Regions from separate parts of the Homo sapiens genome. Here region 2 is linked to region 1. The links are contacts of gene promoters, found by promoter capture Hi-C in human tissues and cell types (Jung and others, 2019). All regions are on one chromosome and are shown on one strand. The core of a region is centred on a gene start or on the middle of the fragment in contact, and the rest is flanking DNA. Distances in the headings are between cores, read along the strand shown.

Region 1 (3,687 bases), core at 16-2,515:
GATATAGTTTATAATAAAACTTTATGACTGCAACAGTAAAGTAAGAAGTATTATATATTCAAGATAGAAATACACTAGTTTCTGTACGAATGTCTAAATAACAATTGAACATAAATAGCTGAAAATCCTCTGGATTCTTGGATTTGTCTTACAACTAGTCATGTCTCTGAGTTCTTAAACTTGGTAAGTGGTGTTCTAAAACCTATTACTACAGCAGGACCAAGAAACAATATTTTGAGGGTAGGAGGGAGATGTCAAGAATGCTGTATTTGGGTCAAGATGCCCAGAGCAATCAATACACAACAGATTATCCAATGATAAATAGGAGTGATAAGCTACCAAGTCAATTCACAAATATTTATTGAGCAGTGGATGAATGTCAAGAAAACAATAATAGAAAATGCTTTGAATTGGCAATCGGGAGATTCTTATATTCCTGAGTTTGAAGATTGCTGGATCTGACTTTTGTCAAATCACAAATCAGCTCTGAATATCACTTTTCTCACCTGTAAAGGGGAGGTGTTGGCGTGGATCATCTTATTTGGGGTGCTTTCGAGCAAGCAAGTATAAAATTCTCAGCCTCTCCGCCAGGAAGTTGTTCAGTATTTGACTTGATTGAGCAGACACTTAAAAAATTAAATATCAAGAAAAGAAATCAATAACAGTTCAAAGGAATAATACATGAGCCACCACAAGGCGGCCTTATAAGCAAAATAAAAGTTGAAATAATTATTTTAAAGGAATAAGACGCTAGAGACGCAGTTACAGACAAGACGAAGTTCCTCTAGGCGGCCAGCGGAGGGAGACTCTGCTTCCCTTCCCCCGGCAGTGGGGACTGGGGGACTGGGGGACTGGGGGACTGGGGGACTGGGGGACTGGGGGACTGGGGACAGGGGTTGGAGGACTGGGAAACTGGAGGACGGAGAACAGGGGGACAAAACGACTGGGGGACTGGGGAATTATGGGACTGGGGATTTGGGGAATTGTTTTCAAACGCGCGGGGCAAGGACTCCCCACCGCCTCTGGAAGGGGTGAAGAACTAGTCGACTCTAACTCCCTCAGGGTGGCCAGGGAATTGCATTTGGTTCTCCCGCGGGAGTCGCGCAGGCGGGCGGCCAGGGGGAGTGGGCGCCGCCCGGCAGCGCCCCGCGCCGAGGCACAAGCGCCCGCGCCGAGGCACAAGCGCCCCCGACTCACCGGCTCCGCGCGTTTCCCCGCGCGTCTCCCGGACCCGCGCCTGCCCACCCCTCCGGCTCTGCTGCGGTCGAGGCCCCAAGTCGGTTATCCCGTGTCCAGGCAACCGCGGGGGCGGCGGCGGCGGCGTGAGGAGCGGGCGGCTGCTGCTCCGGGGCCTCCTGGCTCGAGCCCTTAGCCCCCGACTCCCGGCGTTTCGGCGCCCGATCAGCGCTCCAGGCCGCCCCCGCTCCGCCTTCTCCCAGTGCCTTTCCCTTTCTCTTGTAACCGATTTGCCAACCCAACTCCTTTCCCTCTTTACCGGAGAGGGAAGGAGTGGAGACGAGTCAACGCCCCTTCGTACAGCAGTGAGGTTAGAACGTGAGGGGATCACAGACTTCGTCCACCTTCGGGAGGACCGCAGGACCTCTTTCTTTCTTGCCACTTGGGATGATACAACCAGGACTCCATGCGATAACCCCATGTGGTTTGGTTGTGACTTCAGTATTGAGAAACCTCAACAAACTGTTAAGGAAGAAAGAACTTTTCCTAGTGTCTGAAAGTGGGGAAAATGACTAATTCAAGACTAATTCAAGCCATTTCTCTAAGGGTCTGTTTCTTTCAAAAACAAATTTTTGAAGCATTGATCCTTCTGACAAAATACTAAGTGGCAGGCCGGGTGTGGTGGCACAACCCTGTGCCAGGCGTGTCCTGTCCCAGGACTTTGGGAGGCCGAGGCAGGAGGATTGCTTGAGCCCAGTGGTTAGAGGCTGCAGTGAACTGGGATCGTGCCACTGCACTCCAGCCTGGGCGACAGATCAATAAATACATAAATCAGTGGCACAAAATGTATTACCTACATTTTGTTTCTTCATCTGTGAATATACACTGTGAACTGAAATAGGCTTCAGAGGACAGTCGTGTCTTACACTATTGTCACCGTCTTCTTCAATGAAAACAAACACTGGACTATAAACTGAAGATGGTTAAAAAAAAAAAACAGAATCAGAATAAAGATTAGCATTCTCATCCAGAGAAATCATTTTTCCAGGCAACACTGAGAACAGGCAATTGCCTGCCAAGGTTAAATCAGCAAAGTCTATTACTTTAAGAGGCAATTTAATTAGTAATCCTTTCTAAGAGGGGAAAACCAGCAAGTCCGTACCTGGAATGTGGTCCTTTCAGCCAAAGATGAAAAAAAGGAAGCAATAACTAACAAACTGGTGGAAGGTCTTAATCTTAAATTAATATATGCAGAAGCAGAGCTCTTTTTGTAATTAAAAAATGGATTCAAGAATGCACTCCACTTTCCCATCTCCCTCCATTAATTATTAAACTTTGGCTTGTTCTCAATACAATGTTAAATTATAAACCAAATGAATCATTTGCATGCCAGTAAATATGTATTCATGAGGGTTCACAATATGTAAATGTGCATATTAAAACAATAGCTAGATTTTTTTCTCATAAAATAAAACTTTACCTACTAGAAATCTCATTATTGACAAGTTTCTCTTAATTAGAACTCACTGATAATTGCTAAACCCCTGTTGTGGCAGGCAGAATTCTAAAATGGACGCCCATGACCCTACCCCTTGGTATACACACCTGCATAATCCTTAGGACTTTAAATTTGGTGGATTTCATTTTCCTGATTAGTTTGTTACCTGACACAATTGACTTGAAAAAGGGAGATTATCCAGGATGGGTTGGCCTTTATTAGGTAAACCCTTAAAAGGGACTGACCTCTTCCTGGAGTCGGAGGTTTGAAGCATCAGAGGGATTTATCAAAGGGATATTCTCTATTGTCACCTTTGAAGATTGACAAGACCCTATGGTAAGGAAGGCAGGCAGCCTCTAGCAGCCGACAATGATCCCAGGTGACGGCGAGCAAGGCAATGGGGACCTCAGTCCTACAACTGCAAGAAACTGAATTCTACAAATAATCTGGATGTGCTTGGAAGAGAACACTGAACTCAAAATGAAAATATGTCCTGGTTGGGCACGGTGGCTCATGCCTGTAATCCCAGCACTTTGGGAGGCCAAGGCAGGCAAATAACTTGAGGCCAGGAGTTCAAGACCAGCCTGGCCAACATGGTGAATCCCCGTCCCTACCAAAAATACAAAAAAATTAGCCAGGTATGGTGGCACGCACCTGTGGTCCCAGCTACTCAGGAGGCTGAGGTGGGAGGATTGCTTGAGCTTGGGAGGCAGACATTGCAGTGAGTCAAGATTGTGCCACTGCACTCTAGCCTGAGCACAGAGCAAGATCCTATCTTAAAAAAAAAAAAAAAAAAGGAGATTATGGATTATGTCCTGCCATCACCTTGATTTCAGCCTCGTGAGACCCTGAGCAGACAACCCAGGCAAGCTCACTTGGGCTACTTACTTAGAGAACCGTGAGGCTAATAAATGGACATTGTTTTAAACTGCTAGACTTACCGTAATTTGTTACACAGCCAAAGAAAGCTAATACACATATTAACTTACTTCACATAAACAAAAGTGGGTATT
Region 2 (3,900 bases), core at 708-3,207, 37 kb before region 1:
TACAATATTCCAGTTACAAAATTCCAATAGAATGTATTCATCAAAACCACTCTATCAGTAAACAAATTTTCTAATGTAAATTCCTAATGAACTACAGAATTTAAAATTTTTCAAAATATATTAAAATTATAAAAATTAACATGATATATAACATTTAGTCATGCGTTTAGATTTAATAATTTAACAATATATTAAAAATGATACTTTTATCTTCTTTGACTCAAGACAGAAGTTCAAAGGTAGATGGGCAATTATTTTCACTAAATATGACACAAAAAGAAATAATATATAAAGGCTTCAGGTTTTATTTATATAAGTTGAAAACGTTAACTATTAACAATCCATCATCAGAAGGTCCAAATGAGAGAAGATTAAATAATTAAATGAACACATGGAAATTATTTATATTCTTTGGTAATAAAAATGTAAAGTAGAGCAATTGTGGTCATTTTCTATTTAATAAACTAGCTATTTAATAATAATCAAATAAAATCTGGTATTAATATGTTGTGGTAATACTGATAAACAGTTGAATGTGAGGTACATTTGTGGAAAACAATATAAAATAAATATTGAAGGCCACACAAATGTTCACAGCCTATGTCCCCCAAATTTCAATTCTGAATACTTAACTTGAAACAAAAACCCACAAAAGACAAAAGTTAAAAAGAGATATCAGAGAAAATGATAAAGACCTTTGAAAAATCTACCTCTCCATAAATACAAAGATTTAAAAAGGCGAAATTGTCAAAATCAACATTTTCAGAATTCCAGAAATATAGCAAAGGCTTCCAGCAACTGTGTGAACAACTATTCAAGAAAAACAGATAAATCTTGGTAAGAACACAAACATTTGTGGCTTCTTAACTTTCCTTGGTCCCAGCCCTGACTCTGAAGGTCAACAGAGCCTTGAAAAATAAAGGTCCACATTTACGATATCGGAGGAGGAAGAAGAGAGTTGCAGTTTTTTGCAAGCCTCATTCCTAAAGAACTGTCATTTTTAGAAATACCTGGTTATTCCCTGCAAGACTTCACTTCTAAAGCTGTGAGCATGATCAGGAAAAAGTCAGGCTAATATTATCGGAAAGAAGAGATTTAAAGGAATTAGCATCTATCAAAGTCCAACTCTTCTAGAGATATCTTACATTTCTGAGATATGAGAATTTACATATTACACTTATCTATTCAGTGGTTCTTAACCAGAATAGTATCCAGATTTTGAGGACTTTGTTGTTGTTGTTACTGTTAGAGGAAGGGTCTCATTATGTCGCCCAGGCTACATTCAAACTCCCAAGCTCAATCAGTCCTCCCATCTCAGCCTCCCAAGCAGCTGGGACTACAGCTGCTGCACCGCCATGCCTGGCTTCAAGGAAATATTTGTAAACATACATGTCCACGCTTTATTAGACTTACTCTATCAAAATCTTCAGGGGAGAGCCTAGACTTGTAGATTTTTTTAAATTTTTCTGCAGGTTACTGTGATGCACAATTCTAGTTGAGAACTAGTGCAATAGACAATTACTTCAGTCTCATCTCTCACCCATATAACCAAATCCCTTTATCATTTGAGGATTTGGCACACACACAGAAAAGACCCATGAAAGCCCTAATCTCTCACCTCTGGTTGACCTTGAGACTCTGCATGTGCCAGAAGGAAAGGCTAAGGCTGAGCTGTCAAGTCCTTGGATGAGTGTTGAAGATGTATCTGAACATGCACATAAAGATGCTCAGCAAAGACAGAGATTTGATTCCAGGAATCTAGAGAAATATCTGTTCCGCCATTAATTGACCATTAAGCCAACTGGATAGAGATTTCAGTGAGTGGCCACAGAGGGCTTCAGAGAACTAATTTAGAAAAGTTGCTAAATTAACAACTACAAAAATCAGCAGGGAAAGCAAACCCTAGAGAAGAAGAACAATCTGATGACCACAGGTTCTCACGTTCTATTATTTTAAATGCCCAGTTTTCAACAAAAATGTATGACATCCAAAAAAAAAAAAAACCGGACAAATGGTTCATACAGAGGAATAAAGCAAATAGACTTTTGTCAAAATCAGTTTGGATACTACAGTTACACTTTGATACATAAAAATCTTGAAAGTCAGCATTCGGTTTCTCTTAAAAGAAAAAGCTGAACGGAAATACTCAACAATTTTTCTTAGGTCCATCAGTGAATTAAGGTTACAATGTAAACTGACACCCCAAAAACTGGAGGGTCAGGCTAATGCAGAAGTTGCTGGAGCCAAAAATGGGTAGAGAAGTGTAAGATCTAATTGATTAACTATTGGAGGCTGAGTGTGGACTAGTTTGAGAGTTAAAAACTTCTGGGGAGTCAGTATTAGAGGGCCAGGTATATTTTTACTTTTATCTCCAGCTCCACCTTGTTCTCACAGTTGAAATTTGAGGAATACTCCTTTCGACTTCTAGAAGAAGGGGAAAAGTAGTTATTTTGAATTATTGCCAGGGTAAAAATTGCCATTTTGAAATATACCCAGAAGGTTTGGTTTACCACTACCCCTCAAGGGAAACTACCTTAACAGAGACTAACCAATGGAAAGAGGGAAATATTCACTTCAGCCCCTCTAGACTTCTTGTTAAACCTAAGGTGAAAAGAAATCTGAGAAGCATGAGATAACATTATGCATTTGTCAAAACCCAGAGATCTGTACCACAAAAGAATGAGTCATGGACCTTAGTTCATAAAAATGTATCAATATTGGTTTATCAACTTTAACAAATACACAACACTAATGCAAGATGTTAATAATATTGGAAATTGTGAATGTGGGTTAGGAGATAGTGAGTATATGAGAGCTCTGTATTATGTACCAGTTTTCTATAAACCTGAAAATACTCTAAAGACAGTCTACTAATTAAAAAAAAAAATAAGTGAAATGTCACTTCACAGCCACTAGGAGGCTATAATAATAAAGTAAAAACAAACCAAGAAACTAATAACTGTTGGTAGGGATGTGGAGAAACTGGAGTCCATGTATTTTGTATTATGAAATGTAAACTATGGCTGCTTCTGTGGAAAGCAATTTGGCAATTACTAATAAAGTTAAACACTGAAATTACAAAATGACCCAGCAATTCCATTCCTAACTATACACCCAACAGGAATGAAAACATATGTTTGCATAAAAACTTGTATTCAAATATTCATAGCAGCATTATTCATAATATTCCTAAAACAGAAACAACTAAAACATCTATCTACTGATGAATGTATAAACAATAGGTGGAATATCCATAAAGAATAATAGTATTCAGTCATACAAAGGAATTAAATATGAATACATTTTACAACATGGATGAACCTTGACAGCATTATCTTGGTTGAAAAGGTGAAAGGCATGCAGAGCCAACTATTTTATAAAATCATTGATATGAAATATCTAGAGTAAACAAATCCATAGAGCAAGAAAACAGATTTGTGGTTCCAGAGGCTGGGTAGAGGAGGAATGGGGAAAGAATGCTAGTGGTACAGGGTTTCTTTCAGTGGTTATGAAAGTGTTCTAGAAATAGATAGTGGTAATGGCCACACAAACTTATACTAAAAATTCTAAATTGTAAACTTTAGAAAGGTAAATTTTATGCTATGTGAATTGTAGCTTAATTTTAAAAAGCTAAACACAGTATCACTTAGCATATATGCCAAAATAGAACAATAGTTATTTAAATTATGATAAAGAAGACTGAGAACTATTATTCAATAAAAACGTAATTATCAAGAATTACAAAAATGTATGTTATTTATATAATTTAAATTTTAAAATTATACTTATAATGCATCTGTATAAATACATCTATATCCATTAAAAGATAATGTATATGAAAGAAAACAGTAGTGTTTTACTATTAGGCATGTCATATTTTTTGTATTTCCAAAATTTTTA

The links. Contacts are between HindIII fragments. The study calls those that stand out against the background at their distance.
Region 2: a contact is called between a fragment that was not itself captured here and the fragment with the promoter of CCDC178 in region 1, in 1 of the 25 tissues and cell types used here (H1 embryonic stem cells).

Annotation. Positions count from the first base shown.
Region 1 is chr18:33,439,456-33,443,142 of GRCh38, forward strand. It overlaps CCDC178 (coiled-coil domain containing 178), which reads right to left and starts at 1,266. Exons shown (of 23, transcript NM_001105528.4): 1 at 1,198-1,266; 2 at 507-626. The HindIII fragment of the contact is 6,939 bases long and covers 1-3,687 here.
Region 2 is chr18:33,401,501-33,405,400 of GRCh38, forward strand. The region is part of intron 3 of CCDC178 (coiled-coil domain containing 178); the gene reads right to left. Among named protein-coding and RNA genes, the nearest start is that of CCDC178, 37 kb to the right of the region's middle. The HindIII fragment of the contact is 6,003 bases long and covers 1-3,900 here.